4 separate regions of the Homo sapiens genome follow, and all the other regions are linked to region 2. Evidence: promoter capture Hi-C in 16 types of primary human blood cells and fetal thymus (Javierre and others, 2016). All regions are on one chromosome and are shown on one strand. Each heading gives the region's core, a stretch centred on a gene start or on the middle of the fragment in contact. The rest is flanking DNA. Distances are from core to core; before and after follow the strand shown.

Region 1 (5,976 bases), core at 1,380-3,879, 300 kb after region 2:
TTCTAAAAGGGCAATGCCATTTCTCTGGAGCACTGGCTCCTCCAAGTAGGGAGCCAGTCAGCTATTGAGCACTGAGGCAGCCAGACAGCCAGCGTCTATTGGGACTGGTTGGCCTTCATGGTGTATGGTCAGTAAATGTTTGCAATATCCCCCTTGCCCACAGGCAGGGAGTAGAACTCAGCAGTCAAGGTTACTCAGTGCCTTGAAGTCCTAACTCAGTGTGCTTTCAATCACATTCATGGAATGCTGTGCTCCCGGGGAAAATCCTATTGGACTGTTAGAGTATGAGGCCAGCCAGTAGGAAGAGAAGAGGCTTTCCTTGTTATTTGGACAGTTTTGCTGCCTCTAGGAGACAGTGGGGTACCGGTTCTCTCCATGGGTTCCTAGGCAACTTATTAGAATATCTGAGTAATGAGCTCTTCGTGGGAGAAACAAAGTCACACATTGCTTTCTTTAACAATCCTTCTCTGGTATGGGTTGTAGGTCTGGGATAATGCCCTGTACTGTGTGATGGGGCCCTACAGAATGAATACACTGATTCTGGCCGTGGTTTGGTTTGCCATGGCATTCAGGTAAGTTCTGTCTTACTTAAATTTCGTAATTCCCTGTGCCTCAGTGGCCTCCTTTACACATTGAGGATTACAGTGAGTTCTGACTTAGAATTTGTATCAGGTAGGATGCTTTGGTGGCAAGTAGCAGAAAACCAACTCTAGTGGCTTCTACAAAGAAGAAACTTTTTTTTTTTTTTTTGAGACAGAGTCTTGCTCTGCACCCAGGCTGGAGTTCAGTGGCATGGGCTTGGCTCACTGCAGCCTGTGCCTCCTGGGTTCAAGCTATTCTCCTGCCTCAGCCTCCCCAGTTGCTGGGACTACAGATGTGTGCCACCACACCTGGATAATTTTTGTATTTTTAGTAGAGATGGGGTTTTGCCATCTTGGCCAGGATGGTCTTGAATTCCTGACCTCAAGTGATCTGCCTTCCTTGGCCTCCCAAAGTGCTGGGATTACAGGTGTGAGCCACCACATCCAGCCAGTGGGGATGTCTTTAGTGTTTCCCTATTCACTAAGATTCTGGCTGAGACATGTATATTTTACATGTTAAGGAGGTGTCCCTCAACCCCTAATCTATTGGTGTTTGTATCAGGAAAACATTTCTTTTAAATCAAATGCCTTTTCAGCATTTATGGAGGTGGTCATAGTTTTCCCCTTGTATTTATTAATATGAGGATTTATATTGTCAGATTTTCTAATAATGAACCAAATTAATGTATTTTCAATGAGTTTGATCTGCATCAAGTCAAGAGTGTAGACCCTGATCATGAAAGAATGAATCCTGTTGTTGTTGCAACCTTCTGCCTTCTCCACTCCAGTTACTATGGACTGACAGTTTGGTTTCCTGATATGATCCGCTATTTTCAAGATGAAGAATACAAGTCTAAAATGAAGGTGTTTTTTGGTGAGCATGTGTACGGCGCCACAATCAACTTCACGATGGAAAATCAGATCCACCAACATGGGAAACTTGTGAATGATAAGTAAGTGAGTGATCACGGGCTTCCCTCACATCAGGGTGACAGTCGTGGGGACTGTTATTGGGAGGGAGCCGGAGGGAAGATAAGAATCAAATATGGCCGGGAATGAGCGCCAAGGCTGGTGTCATCATCACAACCTGTCATGGCTGCCAGTGACGCCATAGCTCCCCTAGTGGCTGTGTCTGTGTTGTGCTGGCTCCCCGACACCCTAATCTCCTGGTGAGAGCTATTTCATGTGAGGATGGAGACATTTGACTGAGGACGGTCAGTTGGGCCATTTTTCCAAGTGATGTCCCATTAAGAGTGGCTGCCCAGAGAAAGGGCCTAGGGCTCTTACTGCTGAGATTCCCGAACTAGTCCAAAGCCTGGGTGTTGAGCTTTTACTTTGACCCTAGAAGCTTTTCCATGCCAGGACAAATAAAGCCCTGTTGTTATTCTTTCACCTAATATTCCTTTGGAGCGTTGATCAGTATGGTCCACAGTCAGCTAGGAGTGTTTTTTAGAGGAAAAAAAAAAAATCAGTGGAGGATTAGAAAAGTCCTGTTCACAGCTTTGTGGGGCTGCTTCCTCAATCCATTTTACTCCTCCTCCTCCTGGTTCTGGGACAAATGAGATGGGCCATCCGCCCTGTTGTGCTTTAGGAATGCCTCTTTGAAACTGTCCTCTGAAACCCTCAAGATGGATCAGGGCAGGACCTTAATCACGCTTACCCAAGCCCACATTATTCACTAAACTGAGCATTTACCCCTCTGCTGTGTCCCTTCCTGAACTGTACTTAGCAAGCTCATCAGGTTGTGAATGGTAAGTAAATGGGTGGCCATGGGCTATACAGTGGCACCTGAAATACCATGGCCCAGATAGTTCAATGTCAGTCACATTAACTGCCCCATATTTACCACTTCAATACAAAATTAACACCACGAATTCTCACCTCTGGTGAATGTTGTATCTCCCTCTGTCTGCACCCACATATGCGTCTGGTGTCTCAGTAAAGTCCCTACCTGTAGTGACTCCTGGCCACTTTAGGAAAGGAATGGCTGGGTGAAGCCCAGGAAGGATACCTCTTTCAGTTTATTCTATATTGTTCTTACAGGCTAGACTTTAGCTAAGGCTTCCTGTTATTTAAGGTGAGAAAGTGTGCAATAAAAAGGAGAATATTATTTCTACCAATATCAGACCTTTGGGAAGGAAGGTTTTGGACTAAGTATCATTGACATGGGTTCAGATTTTCAGAATTTTTAAAATGCTGAAGCCCAGTTGCAGACATCTCCATACTCATATACCCATGCATCTATACATCCCCTACAGAGACAGTTCAGAGTCATTATCCTCTGCCCAGAGTGACCACTCTAGGGATGGCAGCTTGTGGTGGTGGAAGGCAGTTCCCCCAAGATGTTTCATTGTCTGAGCTCTTTAGTATGTCAGGAGGTCTTGTGTTGACATTGCCAAGGAAGAAATATCACCCTTGCTTTATTAGGATACTTTGGAAATATTGAAAACTAAGGGACATTATGGATGACTAGATGTCACCCATGGGGTGACACCATTCCTTGCAGAGATGAATTCCCTAAAGGAGACCTCATTTCTGAAGTTCCCAATGTTTAGTGATACATTATTTTGATACAAGTAATACTAATGGTAGCAGTGACAGTGATAATAATGCCAATGATAGTCACTGTAGCAGGCAATGTTAATGAGCATTGCTGTGTGCCAGGTGCTACCTTAAGTGCCTTACGTAGATATCTCACAAAACTCCAGGGAACAAGAAATATGCTTTCTCTTTTGCAAGTGGGGAAACAGAAGCTTAGAGAGGTTAAGTATCTTGCTCAAGATCACACAGCTAATATACATAGAAATATCTATCTCCCAACCCATGCATTTGGACTCCAGATCTTGGACTCTTGACAACTACAAATATTTTCTCATTGGGAAACTCTTCATTCCTACAGAGGCGCTGTTTTACATGATACTTTCTGCATTAAAGTCAATACAACGCAGAGTCCTTGTGATTTGTAACAAGCAGGTTTTGCAGTTCTGACACTTAGCTAGGCAGAAAGTGGAGACTTTTGATCCACTCTGTCATTTTAACTTTGCTCAGCTTCTCCGGGCTTTCAGCAAACTGCTGGGTGGGAGTGAGGAGGAAACAGGGGCTGAAGAAAGCAGTGTTGAATCCTGTGGATGATGGGGGGATGGTGAATCCTGTGGATGATGGGGGGATGGTGAATCCTGTGGATGATGGGGGGACGGTGAATCCTGTGGATGATGGGCGGACGGTGAATCTTGTGGATGATGGGAGGACGGTGAGTCCTGTGGACGATGGGAGGACGGTGAGTCCTGTGGACGATGGGAGGACGGTGAGTCCTGTGGATGATGGGCGGACGGTGAGTCCTGTGGATGATGGGAGGACGGTGAGTCCTGTGGATGATCGGAGGACGGTGAGTCCTGTGGATGATGGGCAGACGGTAAGTCCTGTGGATGATGTTGTGGATGGTGAATCCTGTGGATGATGGGTGGATGGTGAATCCTGTGGATGATGGGTGGACGGTGAATCCTGTGGATGATGGTTAATGAATTTTGTGGATTCAGGACCCCCTGAGGAACATTATGGATGACTAGATGCCTCTCCCCGCCCCACGGGGTGACACCATTCCCTGCAGAGATGAATTCTTTTAAGGAGACCTCATTTCTGAAGTTCCCAGTGTTTAGCAGATATATCATTGTGATATGAGTAATAATATTGATAGTAGTGACAATGAAATTGCTAATAATGGTAACTGTAGCAGCCAGTGTTATTGCCAAGGTCTGGGAATGTATAGGTGTGCCAAGGATTGTCTTGGAGTGGATTGTCTTCACACATTTTCTACCATGTTTCTATGCTTCAAATGTACATAGATGCTTTTGTATGATTATGAAAATATAAATTTCTTCAAAAGTTGTAATGAGTTCATTGTAACTTTCATCATATGGTACATGTTTTTTAACCAACAGACACTAAACCTATACCCACTATTATTTGAAGCCCATAATTCCCCCACTCCCTCCCCAGCAACTTGCTTGAATAAAAAGGGTATTTTTCTCCTTGACTGGTTAGGAACCTTTGAAAGCGATCTAAGGAATGAAAGGAGCCTGGCTTCTTTTCTTGAGTTATGCTGCCATCTGCTGGTCGTGAGCTGGAAAACAGCTCATCTTTGAAAACCCCAACCCTCTTCTGAGCGCCTCCATGAATACACGCGTGTTCTTTGGCTTCCTTGGGGGCATTTCTTCTATCCTTACCAGTATTCCTCCTTTGACTTTATTCATACTTGGCTGATTTAAGGTTTCGATGGAAATTATTTTATTGAGTATCACGCATGGTGGAAAATTATTTTTTGTAAACAGAGCTTCACCCACGGAAGTTGTTGACAAAGGAAATTCTATTGAAACCTCAGTTTCATCCTGCAGTAAAACCAATCTCTTTGCCCCCAAGAAGAAACAAAAGTGCCAAGGTTAGTTTTGGTCTGCTCCCAAAGCATCATCTGCATCCTTCTAGTGCCTTTTTGGGGATCTGGGGGCTCTGAGTACCCATGAAGCTTTTGCTTCAAAACCTGTGAGTTTTTGGAAAGTGCAAGAAAGGCAAAAGAATAAGTTCATGTTTTAAACCCTGAGCCAAAATGTCAGGCCAGGCTTCCTTTATTGTTAGCTAAAAACAGGATAGAGTTTCTACCCAGAATATGTATTAACTAAGTAATTAATTAACAAACTTACCTTCTCTTCCTGGGAAGACATTTCTGCTTGGTAGGGCTTTCTTCTGTGAGGGTTAGGAGCAGGAGAGCATTATCTTATTTAAACCTTTCTGCACATCAGGGAGAGATGCCTGATTTCTGTCTGTGATAGGTCGTGACCCAGGAAGTAATGTCTTACTCCTGGCGGTTCCTCAAAGCTGATGCTGTGTTCTTACTCAGGTAGGAACGTGTAACTGCTCACTCAGATGATTTGCCAATGAAGGATGGGAGAAAAGCTCTCTTGAGTTTTTAGTAAAGGTCAGAGGTGAATAGCTCAGTATGAAAATGAAGTTCACAAGATTTAGCTCTAAAATGAGGCCGGTAGGATAGCAGGGGGCAGGAAGAGCAGAGAGAGGAAGAAAGCACACACACACACAATAGAACAGAGGTTGCTGTCACGCATCACACTGAAATGTTACACGCCAAGGCTCCTTTGGGGAGGGGGGATAAATGAGCATATTCGTCTTTTTTTTTTTTTTTTTTTTTTTTGATGGAGTCTCACTCTGTCTCCCAGTCTGGAGTGCATTGGCATGATCTCAGCTCACTACAGTCTCCGCCTCCCAGGTTCAAGCGATTCTCCTGTGTCAGCCTCCTGAGTAGCTGGGATTACAGGCGCGTGCCACCATGCCCGGCTAGTATTTGTACTTTTAGTAGAGATGGGGTTTTGCCATGTTTGCCAGGCTG
Region 2 (5,955 bases), core at 201-2,700:
AAAAATATATACTGTATGATTCTACTTACATCGAACTGTAGAAAACGCAAACTAATCTGTAGTAACAAATCGGTGGGCCAGGTACAGTGGCTCATGCCTGTAGTCCTAGCACTTTGGGAGGCCGAGGTGGGCGGATCATGAGGTCAGGAGATCGAGACCATCCTAGCTAATACAGTGAAACCCTGTCTGTCTGTACCAAAAATACAAAAATTTACCAGGCGTGATGGCACGTGCCTGCAGTCCCAGCTACGCGGGAGGCTGAGGCAGGAGAATCCCTTGAACCTGGGAGGCAGAGATTGCAGTGAGCTGAGATTGTGCCACTGCACTCCAGCCTGGCAAGAGCGAGACTCCATCTCAAAAAAAAAAAAAAAAAAAAAAAAAAAAATCAGTGGTTGCTCGGCAGGGTGAGGCTGGGAAGGAGGAGTGAGAAAGGGGTGGGAAGAACTGCTGGGGTAGAGAGACTTGGTTAACTGGACTGTGGCGATGGTTTTTCTCTTACGCTTCACATGTGTGCAGTTTATGTCCATCCTCCTTCAGTAACGCTGTTGAAGTTGGGCAGCCTCCCCATATTGAGACAAACGGCATTGAAGCCAGAAGCATCCTAGGACTCCCTTTGCTCTCTACACATCAGGGGTTAGGTTTTATATTTCTCACCAAAAAATTAGAGTAAGAGATATTCTTAATTTAGAAATGTACCAGAGAATATTTTAAAAATCACACTCGGCCGGGTGCTGTGGCTCATGCCTGTCATCCCAGCACTTTGGGAGGCAGGCAGATCATCTGAGGTCAGGAGTTCAAGACCAGCCTGGCCAACATGGTGAAAGCCTGTCTCTACTAAAAATACAAAAATTAGCCAGGTGTGATGGTGCGTGCCTGTAATCCCAGCAAATCGGGAGGCTGAGGCAGGAGAATCGCTTGAACCTGGGAGGTGGAAGTTGCACTGAACCAAGATAGTGCCACTGTACTCCAGCCTGGGCGACAGAGTGAGACTCAAAAAAAAAAATCACACTCCTGACTAAAAATTTCCAGGAGGTCCTTTTAGTTTTTTGTGTTTGTTTTTCACACACAGACCAACCAACTAAAAAGTGACTGGGGAAAAAAAGGAAACACCACACTATATCTTTTTGAAATGTAAGTATACAGATTTTAATTTATTTTTAAGAATAATTGTATATTTTAAAAACAGGACACGTACTGTATGAGTAAACAGCGTGGCTAACACCAAGTCCACACTGGTAAGCTTTTGAGAACCATTTACACTATGTTGACAGTAGTACTGCTGCAGGCAGACAGCGGAAGAATAAATAATAGTGCTTCAAGAAGAGTAGTGATTGAGAGGATAGGTAAAGAGGGCGCCTCATCGTGGAAGCTAGAGCAGGAACACCTCCCCAGTAGTGACATGTGCAAAGTTCCAGATCTCCACGACAAAGACAGCTCAACCCATTGGAACAAACAGACTCCCAATGTGGCTGGCAACTGCGGGGGTAGAAGAACTCAGGCAAAGTAGGCACAGGAATGGGGGAGATGAGAGCCAAGGGACAAACGCCGAGAAAGCGTTCCGACAAGCATGTGTGTTCATACATGCATACCCCCAACAAAGGGCAATGCACTGTGTAACAGAACTGAACACAATTTAACAAAGCTGCTCCCAGCCTTCCTGTCACCTCTTTGGCAGTAGGGCAGGCCATCTCAACTTCGGACACACAAAGACATTCTCTTCAGGAGGAAGGCTGTCCTGTGTGGTGGGGACAAGGCTTCAGGTAAGAGCAAAGCTATGATAGCTACAGCATTAATTGAACATGCCTAAACAAAAAAGATGTTAATTACTAGTTACAGGTATACATGCCAAAATTACCCCCAGGGATGGGCATAGTCAATCATTTTCCTACAGTGGTGAAATAAAACAAGCTTTGATCATGCTTCAGCAAGTAGAATTATGTGGTAGAGAAGTCAGGCCCCATATGCTAAAATTTGCACTTCTTGCCATAAACTTTTCATGTATATAAGTCAAAACCAAGTCTCCTAGGACCACTAAACCTATGATGGGCTTTCAACTGTAACACTCATTCACATCTTTAAGTTAGGCCCATGGTCATGGAACCTGGCCAAGGTTTCAAGCACGCCTAAGCTGAAGAAAAACTAAAGTCACCCCCATATAATTAGGTCCAGTCTAGGCACAGGAAGCCACAGCTGGTTGACTGATCAGGGCTTCTCAGGACTGGATGTTGGTTGAATTGAGGATTCCAGAAGTAGCATCAGATTTGGAAGCCTTTGAAAGTTCTCGCTGTTGAAAAATAAATAACATCAGTGGCCATACTGCCTCTCTTACACATGGCCCACCCTTCTAAGTTTGGTTAAGTGTCAGCAAAAGGTCCCTTGAAGGTAGTTTCTCTGAGATCCCTAGCCTGCAATAGGCTGCGTTAGGAGTAAAAGGTGAGGAACTCTGAGCACCATTCTATTAGTCACAGACAGAGTGCATGTGCACGCATGCCCGTGACCCCTTTTTCCTCAGCCAGTCCATTCTGTTACACCTCACAGAAGAGAAATCCTTCATACAGTCATGCACTGCATAATGATGTTTCAGTTAACGACAGGCCACATACACTATGGTGGTCCCATAAGATTATACCATATTTTTACTGTACCTTTTCTATGTTTAGATACACAAATACTTACCATTGCGTTACAATTGCCTACAGTATCCCAGGAATAGCCTGAATCAAAAAAACCCACAATTGCCTACAGTATTCTTTCTGTAACATGCTGCCCAGGTTTGTAGCCTAGGAGGAAAACGCCATACCATATAGTTTAGGTGTGTAGGCTGTTCTGTCTAGGACTGTTAAGTACACTCTGATATGTGCACAATGAAATTGCCCCACATTCTCAGAACATATCCCTGTCATTAAGCGAGGCATGACTCTACTTCACAGAGCTACTTTAGAGTTGTCAAGGTAAGTAGGCAACAAGCTTTGGTCTCTTGAGCCCTTTATAAAACAATGGGCCAGAACATATATCTACCAATCCCTGGGGCTGAGGCCTTGTAACCTGCTGGTGATTTGATCTCATGCTGGAGCACATGGTAGAGCAGCAAAAGATAAAGCATGAATGGCTATTGAGAAAGACAGATATTAGCAGAGGTTAGTTTACCGGCTTTGGTGCTGCCTGGTGGAGTCTATCAGCCATAGCAACCCAAACCAGACGAACCTACCTAGGACTAGCCACACAGATAGGCAGGTACATTTAAGCCTCAGATAAAATGGGCCTTGGTTGAACAAGCGAAAAAGAGAAAGCTGGACCTCTGTCCAGCAATCAGCCAGAGTGACACACACCCACTTTTAAAGGTAGAAGCACCACCAGCCACGTAATTTGAAAAACATGCTGGAGTAGGAAGCCAGTTTCAGTGATCAAAACTAGCTGCAGCCTTGGCCAACTGTTCCATTCTCTATCCCTGCAGCAATTAAGAGGGGAGGCAGGCTAGGGGTTTAACTCAATATCCCCTCAAGGGTGAGGAACATCCTCTCCTCTTGCTAGTAAAATATTGAGAGAAGAAATCACAGATTAAGTAAAAGGCAGTGTAGTTAGGTGTTAGCAAATATAGAGTAGGATACTAGGAAGTGAAGAGCATTCTGGAAAAACTTGCTTCCAGTGCTTCATCTATGCTTCAGTAGCTCAATGTATGGAAAGAGGCAAAGGTGAGGAAATCAGCATTAGCTAGCTGAGAATAGAGCTGGCGGTTAAGCCCTGAGGGGTTAGGAAGGCATATACTCCAGGAAATAATCAGCACACAGGCCAAGAGCCTCATTGTAGGCAGCACACAGCTGGGGCTCCCTTCCCCATGTGATTGGGGGCCTCTATTCTTTCCAGCTATTGCAGGCCTTTGATGTCACAATTGGGGAGGGTCAAGGTTTTCTGTTAAACGTGATTTAAAACTGTGCCTGACTTTAGGGGCTGAGAATCCAATTCAAGTCTGAACAAATTTTATTAATTAATCTGTTGTGAATGTAAATCAGATGTGTTTTTTTGAGTCCATGATAGGAATTCCTGCTTCCTTTGTAACACTGCTGAGATTATTAGTTAGTGTAGCCCTGTGCCCAGATGAATGAAGCCAGCAGATGACAGATCAGTTTGGAAAAGGGACATGCAGGGATTGCCATACAGACCTGAAGCCCAACAGTGGAACTGTCAGAGAGGGACGGATCCTTCTAAGAACAAAGAATTAAGACAATTACCAAGAACTCCACCAAGAGAGCACCAGGACAGTGATAGAGGGGTTGCCTCCTGCAGCCAGGGAATGGTATGTATTAAGCAGAAGGATCCAGGTTAAATGTCTAGTTGCTGCTGCCAACTTCCTTCCTACACAACCCCCCCTTAAATCACACCCACCCTGCCATGGTCAAAGCAGGAAAGGGATTCTCAGCCTCCAAGGTAGCTGCCCTAGCTAATAGCCTGGGTGCCCCTGGGAAGATACCCACTCTGCCCCAACTGTGTGCTCCCCAGAGACTGGTAGATATTAGAAAAGGTGAATTACCGCAAACTCAGAATAGGTGCTGGCAACAGAATTAATGCTGAAGTTGCGCTGGAGGGGGGCCGAGCCAGGGTACCCACCACTCAGGATGCTGCCGTTGAGCTCCAGGTTCTCCTTGTTGGCTCCATGCCTGCCAGTACGGGGTGTTTTCTTCCCTGAACAGGTGGAAGCAGCGACTGGCTGCAGAGAAAGGAAAGAGATCCATGTATCATCCTTCTAATGAACGTGCACACGCACACACAATACCTGCACTGGTCAAAGGCTGAGACTATCTTTATATTCATGTCTATAATCCTATACTTTTTAGTTAAAAAAAAAACATATATATATATATATATATATATATATATATATATATGGGGCTGGGTGTGGCTCATGCCTATAATCCCAACACTTTGGGAGGCCAAGGCAGGAGGATTGCTTGAGGCGACATGTTCGAGACCAGCCTGGGCAACATAGCAAAACACTGTCTCTAGAAAAAAATTTTTTTTAAATATGAATTCTTGATTTACAGAACACCTATCTTGAGCATAGTCTAATAAAATATTTGAAAGACTGAATGTGTTTTGCCACATACTTTCCACATCTCTACTGAGTACCTGGCATGTCTAGTGATCTGGTTTCACTGGGCTAGAACCCACATGTAGGGGACCTATCTCCATACCAGCTGAGGACTGGGCTTGGAATTGAGTCTACAGCGACCCTGCCTGATCTTCAGTTTCCCAGACACATCCCAGTGCTTCCCATGGTACCAGTGGGGCTCAGAGTGACTGTTCTCTTTTTTTGCACGTTAGTTTTGGACCATTATTTAATGGTGAGCTAGCTTATATCTGTCAACTCTCAGCATCTCAATAAGAACCAAATCCAGGGATCTTAGAATCTAGAACAAGTAGGTGGGGCCTCTGGGTGAACAGGCTAGGGACGCATGTGAGGATGTGCTTAGACACAGGGCATACTAACCTTGCTGCCAGAAGGAGGAAGTCGAGACACGGGGGAGTGGTAGACTGTCCCTCCAAAGATAGGCCGAATGCTACTATTGGCCGTAGCATTGGACATGGTGGTAGTGTTCAGCTAGGGAGAAGAGCACGTGGGTAACTGATGTGCAGTAACATCCTCAGCATTTCTAGCAACCTGTCTACCCTACAGAGAAATGACTATGGGAGGAGGCAGTCTAGGGAAGACGGGTTTACATGGTGAAGGGCCTGCTGTGTCTAATACTGCATAGATTTGAAGTAACTTGTGAAAAATTTTCAAAGCCTATTGCTATCCAGCAAATGGAAGTGTACAATGGTACAACCACTGTGGCACAAGACATCTAGCATATGACCCAGCCATTCCACTCTTAGATGTTTCTACCCAAACGAAATGAAAGCATAGATCCATACAAAGACTTAGACGTAAATGTTCACAACAGCTCCCTGCAGCAGCCA
Region 3 (5,864 bases), core at 371-2,870, 320 kb after region 2:
ATGTGATCACAGTGGAGCTGTATCCCACCAACCAGAGGTCAGTTCTTCCCCAGGCTTTCCTCAGGGACTTGTTTGGGCTTCTTTGGCCAGAAGTCTACCTGCTCCCTAAATCTCATGCTGTGCATGGCCATCGTGGTCTTTCTGCTGTTCCGTGAAACAAACATCTTTTATGTTGAGCTTCTCCTGCATGGTGGATGGCATAGACCTGAAAGTTGGCAGGCTAGGGCTTGGATAGGGTGGGAAAGATGGCAAGAAGCAAAGGATGGGAGCAAACTATGTCCAGGAGAAGGAAATAAGAGTGAAAAGTTGGTAAAACCATATGTGTCATGTAATCCACAAGAGAGAACAGACCTTCAAGGGGAGATAAGGCAAAAAAGTGAAGAGCTGGAATAGCACAGGGTGGGGGCAAGGAGAGAAATAAAGGTCGGGAGGCAGCATGAAGTCCAGGGAATCTGCAGAGAATGTGGCAGGGAGGCCCAGGGGTTACTTTTATTTTGCACAGGTCGTATATGGGAAGAGGCCTTGTTTAAAGGCATAGGATCAAGGCCATTACTTAGTAATTGTTTTTCTTCGTGGAGGGGAATTGTAAAGTTTAAAGGAGAAGATAAGAGGCCCTGTGGTCAAAAAGGAATGTGAAGAGGTAAGGAAGGTGGGTAAATGAAATTCTGCAAAAACCTTAATGATATTTCCAAAATTGGCGACAGAGGTATTGGGATATAGATAACTAAGGAAGAGCACAACGTGTCATATTTGGAGCCCCTCTCATTTGAATCAAAGAACTGCTAAGTTTTACACAAAATAACAGGAGGACAAATGATTATTATTTGAATATGATGTGATTTTACATCTAGGAATCCTAAGAGAATTAACTTATGAGACCACTATAGACAAAAAGACAATGTGGTCAGGTGGTCAGTAATAAAACGAAATTATGTATAGGTTTTAAAATATATCGAAAAAGTTAAAGATGCAATTGATATCCATTTAATAATGGCAGACGTCATAAAATAATTAGGGATCAACTTGACAAGTGAAACACTCAAATGAAGAAAACCATAAAGCTTTACTAAGAGATATAAAAAAAGACACATAAGAGAAGATAAATATATGCCAACTCAGTGATTTGGGAGGCCGAGGCAAAAGGATTGCTTGAAGGCTGGAGTTCAAGATCAGCCTGGGCAATACAGTGAGACCCCTATCTCTACAGAATATATTAGACAATTAGCCAGGCATAGTGGCATGTGCCTGTAGTCCTAGCTGCTCAGGAGGCTGAGGGGGAGAGCTGCGAGAGCCCCGGGGTTTCAGGGTTACAGTGAGCTAGGATCACAACACTGCACACCAACCTGGGTGACAGAGACAGACCCTGTCTCAGAAAATGTATATATTTATGGATTATATATTTATATATAATTATGATAATACATATAATTAATAACATATAATTAGTATACATTATTATATATAAATATATATATTTAAAAGACAAGATATACCTAATTTTGGATAAGAAGATTCAATCTTACAAAAACGTCAATTTTTATTTAGTTTTTTTTCTAACATAAAATAATTCATTCAAAATTCAACAAGTTTTTTTTCCCCTCTGGGAACTTGAAAAAAGTTTATTTAAAAAAGGACATATGTTAAAAGATCCAAGAAAATACAAAAACAAAGATACTAAGACAAACAAAAAAGACTGGGTTGATGAATATAAAGCTACAGTGTGGTACAGTTATAGACAAAAATGAAAGAAGAGTTTTAAGAACAAAAATATACCCACACTCTTAATAAACTTGTGGTATGAGAAAGAAACGCTTTATTTCAGTTGGGGAGAGGTAGCATTGGGAATATTGCCTCTGCATACAGATGGGGTCATGAAAGAATAAATGATTAGTAATAGTTCTCACTGGAAAGTGTGATTGAAAGATCATAATTAGGATTAGGTTTTGCTGTTGCTGACAGCAACCTCAGGTAACTGTGGTCTTAAGAAGGTTAAGCATTGCATTTTTCTTTCCTGAAAAAGTCTAGAGTGGGTGGTGCAGGCTCTTTCTATCTCATTGTTTTTCCTTGCATGGACTCATCATGGTCCAAAATGAAACCATCTGTGTTCCATCATGAAGCAGGATAGAAGGAAAAGAATGAAGGGGAACAGAGCAAAAGGCCCACCCGCAACGTCTCTTACGGAAGCTTCTTGGGAACTGCTGCCACTTGCACTTACATCCCATTGGCCAAAACTAAGTCACATGGCCATGCTCAGCAGCAAATCAGTCTGGGAAATGTAGTCCTACATTTGGGGAAATGCTGTTTGTGGGCAACTGGCAGTCTCTGCTTCAGGAGGGTTGAGAGTGTTAAAAGGGGGAACACTTACACTTTCTGCTTTGTATACTTCTTCATCCTTTCAAGATTTCCATAGTAAGCATGTAGTACCTATAAAAATGTTTTAAATAGATATCTTTGAAAAAAAAACAAAAAAGAAAAACACTTGAAGAAAATACTTCAAAATGTTAATAGAGGTGATTGTGTCTCGGTGAAGAGGTTAGATATCCATGCATCTTTATATTATTCTGTATTTCCAAATTTGACTACAATGAGAATGTGTTATTTTTATATTTAGGAAAAAAAACTCCCTTGCACCCTCTTCCCCCTGCAATAAGGAAAAGAAAGAGCCCAGTCCTGTTCATCTAATGTGGTTCAGAATGTCAGAATTATTTCCATTCCTCTTTTACAGAGCAACAGCCTTCGGCATTCTCAATGGATTATGCAAATTTGGCGCCATCCTGGGAAACACCATCTTTGCTTCTTTTGTTGGGATAACCAAAGTGGTCCCCATCCTTCTGGCTGCTGCTTCTCTGGTTGGGGGTGGCCTGATTGCCCTTCGACTGCCAGAGACTCGAGAACAGGTCCTGATGTGAACAACCTATGGGAAAAGGAAAGGTCGAGAGAATCTTGTCCAGGACACTGAAATGCATCCACACTTCCTGCCTATCACGGTCCGGAGGACACCTTGGATAGCACGGGAGGAGAAGTTGACTTTGTGACCCCTAGTTTAGGACCCACTTCAGCTGTCAATATGTTTGTAACTCAGGTGACTGATTTGGGGGTGCCCTGAGCCACCCTTAGAATCACAGAGCTGCGTGTTTAACTTCAAGTCTTCCCAGTCCAAGGCAGGGAGAGGATTCTCCAGTGAGTGCACACACTATGCGAGGAGCAAGCATTTCTCTAAGTCAAGTGCAAGGACTTAACTTGCGTTTGAAAAGGAATTAGAGGGTCAGAAACACCCAGGTTCCTCCAGAAAGCTCCTTGGAGCCCAACAACTTAACAAATCAACTTGGCTGGAAGTTAGAGTCATTATATGAAGATTGGGCTTGAAGTATATATTTTTGCATTTAAAAGTATCACCTATCATATTTTCCACTCGAAAATTGACATAGTAGCATTGAGGATACTCTGATCTAGAAAGCCAAGTATTTGAGCAACATCTATAGAGATCTACTTTTCTCCTATGTCTCCTAGGCTTTCCATGATAATTAGGTAATACATTTAAGAAGGATATTTATTTCTGTTTTGCTCTATTCAAAGAAACGGAATGGGATAGTTATTCTGTAAACTAAGTTTGTATATAACTTTATTTGGGTTTAATTTCCACAACTGGTATCTGCAAATATTGCCAGCATTTTAGCCATATTTTGGGAGAACTTGGTGTTTGAGGTCCCAGGAAATGAGGTCTGATCAAATGAAATGCAAGCACAATTTCTTACAGCCATTTAACTTTCTGTTGGGAGGATGAATTAACAAACTCACATTGTGCAGTCTGCTTAATCCAGGCACTTTTCTTTGTGCAGGTGTAGTGAGTAGTTACTTCTCTCCCTTACACAGATGACTTGTGAAACTCAAGCTCACCATCTTCAGTGCTGGCATTTTACTTTGCCACTACCCAAAAACAATGTGAGATGTGTTCAGTGGCCTCTGGTACTCTTTGCAGGCAAGAATCAAACAACATGGGGACTGAGGGAAGGATGGGGAAGTGTAGCCACAGTTCTTCCAAATGTAAATACTTTTTGTTTGTTCTAGTGGTAAAATGCAAATGCAATCCATATTTGTTAGGATGGTCAGGTCTCATGAGAAATCTATGCTATGTGTCCAGAGCTTTTGAAACAGAGTCCATTGGAGTGGGAGTTAGGGAGTGTAGTGGATGCCAAATATGTTTTTCTTCAGTGCTTAAGAGAACTGTTTCCTGAAGTCCAGCTTTGAACATAAACAGGGGTGTGGGTTGGGGGAGGAGCTTAGGACAAACCTCTCTGATGAAGGTCAGCAATAGACTGAAGTCTTGACTGCATGGAAGAGGAAAAACATCAGAACTGTCTGACAATGGAGGGGACAGTGAGCTACGCACAACTGCCAGCGGAGGTGAACTTGCACCTGCCCAGGCCGGATGAACATCAGCCTGCAAGAACTAGTTGTTTGAGTTGATTTGCAGTGCTCTCAATGGGCAAGTGCCACATTTTCCCTGGCAGAGATCTCCAAAAATTTAAAACAGAATAATAATGGCTATATCGAGTGTTTTCTCAGTATTGGAGAAATGCTTAGGTCCTATGATAGCTTCGGGACATCTTTCTGTAATTTTCCTCAATTAACGGGTTGGTAGGGGTAAATCTTATGACACCTTTCCACCGTCGATTTGAGATCAGTTTTAATGGTTAAAATGTTTACTCTCCTTCTGTCAACCCTCACCTTTTTATTTACACCCCTCCCTTTTTTTCTGTACAGGGAGAGAAGACATATTGACTCTGACTGGACACCCTGATTCCTCCAAATATATATACCACTGTGTATTAATCTTTCTCTCAGTGTTTTATAGGAGTACTAACATTTATTGCTCTGTCAATAATGAAAGGCTCGATGTAATATAGCTGTAATTTACTTTCCATATGAATACAGTGGCTAGGTTCATAAAAGAGAATTGTGTGAGTCTGGGATTACCACATCTAAAACATTATTCTTTAATGGGATAATACAATTCATTGAGCAGCTACCACTTAAAAAACTTGCAGGACAGTTAGAGCCTGCATTTCTAGTTAAGATGGATCTTGTAAATTTAAAATTGGATTAACATTGGAGTGCTGGGGTGGCTGCAATAATTTGGGGGCTAACTCCATTTGGTTTCCAAGATCTCACTTCTGCATTATCTTTATGGCTCTTTAAACCAGCCACCTAGCCAATCAAGGGCAATTCCCATCTCATCCATCACTCAGGTCTTTGTAAAGGGTGCAGCCAAGCTCTGCAGACTTTTGCAGGATTGTCTAGCCTGAGTACCGGGCTACTTCTTAAATGCCGTCACTCCTGCTGAGATAAATGCGTCTTTAAAAATAGTCTCTGTGGCAGGTCACTGGGGGACAATGTACAGCATTCTGGCCATCCACTTCTTTTTCACTTCATGTTCTACCCCAAGAGACTCCCGATGTCGGCTGTGGAGGGTTAAAGGGATGAGGCTTTCCTTTGTTTAGCAAATCTGTTCACAGTTCTTGATGATGTATTTTATGATGCCCAGCTTGGAAATAGTTGCTTTCCATAGTCTCAACTGTATTGTGTCATCTCCTGATGCTGATTTTTGATCTTTTGTTTTATTAAAAATAATTAGTGAAAGAGGTGTGCCTATCTGTGAAGTTTGTAGTACATCATCCTGAGGTCATGTAACAAGTAAACCCCAACCCAGCGTTCCCTCCTACGTTGTGTTAGTTCATTAAAACTAAATAATAAAAATAACTGTAAGAAAACCTTAAGGACTGGGGTTAGAGATTATTTTCAGGCACTAAGGTCTCTTCTGTATTCCAAAATTGATTGAATCAGCTGGGAGAAACATTGAGAAT
Region 4 (6,383 bases), core at 3,512-6,011, 280 kb after region 2:
GAAGCTCACCCAGTCAGGGCCTCTTCTTTCTTGTCACCACGGTAAGCCAGTGCGGTCTGATGGTACATCTTATCCTGCTGCCTCTGGTGTGGAGAGGAAATCTTCTGTCTGTGTGAAAAGCATCTCTAAAGCTGAGAAGAGGTTTCTGATATCTGCCAGCTCTCTAGAAGGATATTTGGCATTGTGTCTCAAGAGCCACAAACTTGTTGATCTCCTTCGATCTCATGATTCGATTTCTTGGAATCTATTCTGAGCAAATAACTAGAAACACCAACAAAGACATATGCATAAAATATTCTTTGCTGAGTTGTTTATTAAGTGAAAAGCTAGACTATGAAGCTTTCGAGACAGAAAGATTTCTATCGTGTAAATACAGTATGTAGTTATACACGTACCAATACAAATACAAAAATAAAGCCTGCTGACAACAGCTGTCTCTGAGTGGTGGTATGATGAATAGATTATTGCTTTACCTTTTATACATTTTGGGGGGTATTCCTCAGATTTTCTTACAGTGAATAGGAATTACTTTTAGATTGTTTTATTTATTGAACAAATATTAATGGAGTACCTACTATGTGTACATCTCTGTGCTAGAGACACAGTGTCGAACTCTCCTCAAGCAAAATCAACATGGTCCCTTCGTCCAGGAGTTTACAGTCACAGGAGTTTGGCAAATATCAAACAAATAAATATATAACATCAAATAGAGACATGTGATACAAAGGAAAAGCAATAGTATGCTGCCAAAAGACTATCAGGGACGACTGAAATTTGGAACAGGAACCAACAAACTGTGGTCTACAAACCTATGACCAATTTTTTTTTTAACATTTTTAAAGGGTTGTAAATTTAGGAATAATAATATGATGTGACAGAGACCATAGAAGATTGGCAAAGTACATTTTACAAGTAAAATATCTATGCTCTGTCCCTTTATAGAAAAAGTTGGTGGAGCCTTAGTTTGGAACATCAGGGATGCCTTTCTAAGGAGATGACATTTAATGTGGGAACTGAAGAAATATGAGTTAGCAAAAAAAAAAAAAAAAAATCCCCCCTTCAAAGTCTTGTTAGAGGAAACTTCGAAAATATTTTTCAAAAAAAGCTTTTTATTGGAAGCTGGCTTCTTCTCCAGGTAAGGAGAGAGGGAGGTCTATTTAAAGGGCATACTACTAAAAATAAGTTTCCTATGCTATTCTCTATCCTTTTTCCTCATATTCCTTTAGTATATGATTGGCTTGTTTTTAAAATATCACCATCTTATTTTTATTTTTCTAATCCTGTGGCTTTCCAAGGTCCTAGACAATTTTAAGCTGTACTGCTAATAACATCAATAGCAGCTTTTATTAAATGTGCATTTACTTTGGTGCCAGGCATTTTGCTAGATACTTTAAATCCACTCCCCTATATAATCCTAACAACTCTGCAAAGATGGGCACCGAATTTTACAAAGATGTAATAGTGGTCAGAGAGGCTGAATGGGCTGCCCACAGGCATGCTGTGGTAGTCATGGAGCCAGGACCATGGCCCAGATGTCTCAGTCTCAGAACTGGGCTCTTTCTTGCATGGTGCCTGTCACTGCAGGCTCCTCCCTCTTCCAAGGAGGGGTATTCTATTTCCTTTGTTGTGTTACCACCAATTAAAAGTCTTTTCCACTCCACCACATCGCTCCTCCTTTCAACCTCCTCCTCCTCCTCCTCCTCCTCCTCCTCCTCCTTCTTCTCCTCTTCCTCCTTTGCTCTGCAAGTAGCAATCCTGGTTTTCAATTTCCTCAAAAATCTCAGTATATTAAGGGATCATTTCCCTAATATGCCACCGAGCTTGTTGAGTGAAATTGAGGGAAGATTGAATTTCTGGCTTTCTAACTAGTTCCTTATCTGCTTCACACTAAGGTAATTTTTGATAACTCCACTGCACTCTAATTTTCCAAATGTATTTTTTAAATTTCTTTTGCTAAAGACAGATTTTAAATGAGTCTAATAACATAGCCATTCCAGAGACATTGTTAATTTTGTATTTCCCTTCCCTGGTGATAGGCTCATTTTTCCTTCATTCTTCCTTTTCCTAGACTTCAAAGACAGCATTTGAGAAGCTCTTCTTATTCTCTCTGGTACCTCCATGACCTTGGACAGTGAGGTTTAGTAGTGAAAGCACAAGGCCTGGAGCCAGGAGACCAGAAATGCAGTGCCAGCAGGTCCTCGGCCAGCATTGAGGTTCTGGGCAAGTTATTGACCCTTTCTGGGGCTCAGCCTCCTCGTCTGGTAAAACTAAGGGGTTGGATTCAACATCTAACTTGTAAAGTTTTTCAATTTGTCTAGGTGTCTAGATCAGTCATGGGATAGTCAGGAGACAAATCATACCAGTTACTTGAAAAGAGAGATTTTAATGTAAAAATTATTAACAGGATGGGTGAAACGCTTTTGAAAAGTTTCACTGAGGTAGCAAATGCAGGGAGAAGCTACCTCCCCTAGGGCTTGGAGAATAAAGGAAAGAGATTGGAATGATTATAACTTAGAATCTTGAAAAGGGGTTCCATAAAGCTGCAACTCAGCTCTCTTAAGAGAGGCCCTGGCTGGCAGTTGCTGGTGTTGGAGAGGAGAATGAAGTGCAATGTGGCCTCTGCTAATTGGATGCAGCTGCTATCTAGAAAGGAATTGCTGCAGTCAGGCTGAAACCTACAGGGAACAGAAAGGACAGGTGCTTTCTTCTTTCCCCAGCCCTGAAGCCTCCCTCTAGCGCCCTCTATTGGCAGAGCCTAGCAGAGAGTGGCTGGCAAAACTGACCGGGATTTGTGGACCAAGTAAGGTCTAGGAGGGTGGCTTTGGAGCTGAGGGACAATAATTTCATAACTGCACAGTGTTCATTGCTAAGATTGCAAACTGGTAGGTTAGAAGCCACTTTTTTGTTAAGGATATCTTTATTATTATTATTCGATTCTTTTTAAAGTCATTTATCATAGTCGTACATATTTTGGAGCACCTGTGATATTTTGATCCATGTGTACAATGTCATAAAGATCCTTGTCACGCCTGTAATCCCAGCACTTTGGGAGGCCGAGGTGGGCGGATCACGAGGTCAGGAGATCAAGACCATCCTGGCTAACACGGTGAAACCCCGTCTCTACTAAAAATACAAAAAATTAGCCGGGCGTGGTGGTGGGCGCCTGTAGTCCCAGCTACTAGGGAGGCTGAGGCAGGAGGATGGCGTGAACCCGGGAGGCGGAGCTTGCAGTGAGCCGAGATCGTGCCACTACACTCCAGCCTGGGTGACAGAGCATCTAAAAAACAAAAAACAAACAAACAAAAAAATGCCTTGTATGGCCTTAAGTAGTTTAATCAAACATTTGTGTCTGAGTTTATGTTTTTAATCTGCATATCTTCTTCCTTGGAAATCCACAGTACTTCATCTTTCATTATTTACATTTTTAAAAAATTAATTTAAAATTAATGAATGGGAAGGCAACTTGGAGATCATCTCTAGTTCAGTAATCGGTTTATAAATGAGGTGATTAATACCCTCAGAAAGTGAGAGGTTTTGCTCCCAAATCATACAACTAGTGAATGAGATCTTTGGGTTCCAAGGCCTGGATTCTCATCATTATTTACTGTTTACAGGAGGACAGATGTGCTCTAGCCTCTTGCTACTCAAAGTGTGGTCCCCAGACCAGCAGCACTGGCCTCAGCTGGCAGCTTGTTAGAGATGCAGAATCTCAGGGCCCATCTCAGGCCTGCTGGATCAGTATATGATTTTAACAAGATCCCCAGGTGATTTATGTGCACAGTAAAGTTTGAGAAGTGCTGAAGACAGCTTTATTGAAGTAAAAGAAAAAATAGACTTTTATTGGATGCTAGTGTTTTTCTCTAGGGTGGACTCAGGGTGTGGGGTGTGGAGACTAGTTCTCAGCAAATCTCTGGAGCACTCCTCTAAGTCTCTTTTCCCTCTCCCTGCTTTCAGTTTATGGGCCCATACACATACATGCAAACACCCATGTGCACACACACAATCACACGTGCATGCATCCATACATCTACGTTTTCACACACACACACACACACACACACACACACACACACACATGTTTATGATCTGGCTTCTGTCCTACCTTCTAGCCTGAACCCTCACCAGATTCCCCTACATGAACTATGCTCTACTCACGCTAGGCTACTTACAAGAAGTTGCCCGAACATATCAGACTTTCTTTTTGCCTCAGTCACCAAATGGAAATCAGACTAAATTCTGTTTGTCTTTCAAGAACAGCTCAATGTCTTTCTCTTGGAAGCCTTCCCACATTGAGTGAATTATATCCAAGGTTTGCTCTTCTTCTGGGTTTTAATAATACCTGACAGATACCTTTATTGAGCACCTTTTTTCTCACTCATAGATAATCATACATTTTATTGTTTATCTCCTTGAAAGGATGGAACCATTCCTCACTTGACAAGCAATACTGGGGGTGAGCAGATGAAGAAAGAATGAACTAATGTAAAGAGAAGGAATCTAACAAATGCTTATCTGTAAAGAGCAGCAAAGTGTAATAGTTAAAGGATCGAGTTGGTTTTTTGAAAAGATAAACAAAACTGACAGACTTTTAGCTAGACTAAGGAAAAAAGAAGGCTCAAATAAAATTAGAAATGAAATGAAAGAGAAGGCATTACAACTGATACCACAGAAATATGAAGGATCACAGGAGATTATTATGAAAAATTGCACACAACCAGTTGTGTAATCTGGAAGAAATGCATACATTCCTAGAAACATGCAATCCGCCAACACTCAATTATGAAGAAATAGAAAATCTTAACAAACCATTAATGACTAAAGAGATTGAATTAGTAACCAAAAACCTCTCGACGAAGAAAAGCCTAGGACCTGCTGGCTTCACTGTTGAATTCTACCACACATTTAAAGAATAAGTAATGCCAACCTTTCTCAAACTCTTCCAGAAAATTGAAGGTGAAGGAATATTTACAAACTCATTTTACAAATCCAGCATTACTCTGATACCAAAGCCAGAGAAGAACACTACAAGGAAAGAAAATTACAGGTCAATATTCCTGATGGACACAGATGCAATAATCTTCTACAAAATACTAGCAAATTAAATTCGACAGCACATTAAAAGGATCATACACCATGATCAAGTGAGATTCGTCCTTGGCATGAATGGATGTTTAAACATATGCAAATCAATAAATGTGATACACCACATTAACATAATAATGGATAAAAATCATATGATCATCTTAATAGATGCAGAAAAAGCATTTGACAAAATTCAGCATCCTTTCGTGATAAAAATTCTCAACAAATTAGGTATAGAAGGCCACATATGGCAAGCCCACAACTGACAATCATAATCAATAATGAAAAGCTGAAAGGTTTACCCCTAATATCAGCAACAAGACAAGAATGCCCACTCTTGCCACTTCTATTCAACATAGAGCAATTAGGCAAGAAAAAGAAATAAAAGTCATCCAAATCAGAAATGAAGAAGTAAAATGGTTTCTGCAGATGGCATCTTATACATAGAAAACCCTAAAGACTCCACCAAAAAATTGTTAGAACAAATAAACAAATTCAGTAAAGGTGTAAAATAAGAAACCAACATAAAAATAGTAATGTTTCTATATGCTAACAATGAAGTATCTGAAAACAAAATCTAGGAAACAATCTCATTTACAATAACATTAAAACATACTTAGGAATGAATTTAATCAAAGAAATGAAAGGTCTTTATACTGAAAACTATAAGACATTGATGAAGAAATGGAAGAAGACACAAATAGATGGAAAGATATCCCATGTTTATGAATAGAAAGAATTAATATTGTTAAAGTATCTATACTGCCCAAAGTAACCTACAGATTCAATGCCGTCCCTATCAAACTTCCAATGGCATTTTTCATAGAAATAGGAAAAACATCCTAAAATTCATATAGAACCACAAAAGATTTGGATAGGCAAAGCAGTCGAGCCAAAAGAACAAAGCTGATAGCACCACACTACTTGCTTTCAAATATACTACAAAACTGTAGTAATTTAAAACAATGGTAGTGGCATAAACACAGACATATAGACCAATGGAACAGAATAGAGAGCTTAGAAATAAATTCACACATTTATGGCCAATTGATTTCCAACAAAAGTGCCAAGAACACACCATAGGGGGAAAAACAGTCTCTTCAATAAATTGCGTTGAGAAAACTGGATATTACATGCAGAAGAATGAAACTGGACCCTTATCTCACACCATATACAAATATACTACATTTCCTTAAGGCTAGACATTGGTTGTAGCTTGAAGAAAGGTCCTTCTTGGATGGTAATAACATAGCCAGCCTTGCTGGCAATTGCTGTTTTTCACTTCTACCGTGTTCTTCCTT

The links. Contacts are between HindIII fragments. The CHiCAGO score rates a contact against its expected background, and 5 or more counts as called.
Region 1: a contact is called between a fragment that was not itself captured here and the fragment with the promoter of PRC1-AS1 in region 2, in 6 of 17 cell types (endothelial precursors, M0 macrophages, M1 macrophages and 3 more). The highest score is 16.4, in endothelial precursors.
Region 3: a contact is called between a fragment that was not itself captured here and the fragment with the promoter of PRC1-AS1 in region 2, in 1 of 17 cell types (M1 macrophages). The highest score is 5.7, in M1 macrophages.
Region 4: a fragment that was not itself captured here is called in contact with the fragment with the promoter of PRC1-AS1 in region 2 in 1 of 17 cell types (megakaryocytes); the score reaches 5.2 in megakaryocytes.

The regions. Positions count from the first base shown.
Region 1 is chr15:91,267,072-91,273,047 of GRCh38, forward strand. SV2B (synaptic vesicle glycoprotein 2B) reads left to right here. Exons shown (of 13, transcript NM_001323032.3): 8 at 484-572; 9 at 1,370-1,534. Among named protein-coding and RNA genes, the nearest start is that of SV2B, 170 kb to the left of the region's middle. The HindIII fragment of the contact is 1,405 bases long and covers 1,928-3,332 here.
Region 2 is chr15:90,964,919-90,970,873 of GRCh38, forward strand. PRC1-AS1 (PRC1 antisense RNA 1) reads left to right here and starts at 1,451. Exons shown (of 4, transcript NR_051984.1): 1 at 1,451-1,760. PRC1 (protein regulator of cytokinesis 1) reads right to left here. Exons shown (of 15, transcript NM_003981.4): 12 at 5,486-5,596; 13 at 4,529-4,705; 14 at 4,161-4,202; 15 at 1,122-2,284. The coding sequence ends at 2,213. The HindIII fragment of the contact is 668 bases long and covers 1,239-1,906 here.
Region 3 is chr15:91,289,644-91,295,507 of GRCh38, forward strand. SV2B (synaptic vesicle glycoprotein 2B) reads left to right here. Exons shown (of 13, transcript NM_001323032.3): 12 at 1-37; 13 at 2,726-5,864. The coding sequence ends at 2,909. Among named protein-coding and RNA genes, the nearest start is that of CRAT37, 170 kb to the right of the region's middle. RefSeq lists an enhancer at 2,076-2,370. The HindIII fragment of the contact is 1,123 bases long and covers 1,060-2,182 here.
Region 4 is chr15:91,245,033-91,251,415 of GRCh38, forward strand. All of the region lies in intron 2 of SV2B (synaptic vesicle glycoprotein 2B), which reads left to right. It overlaps LOC105370972 (a long non-coding RNA gene), which reads right to left and starts at 1,045. Exons shown (of 3, transcript XR_007064760.1): 1 at 1-1,045. The HindIII fragment of the contact is 7,316 bases long and covers 1,104-6,383 here.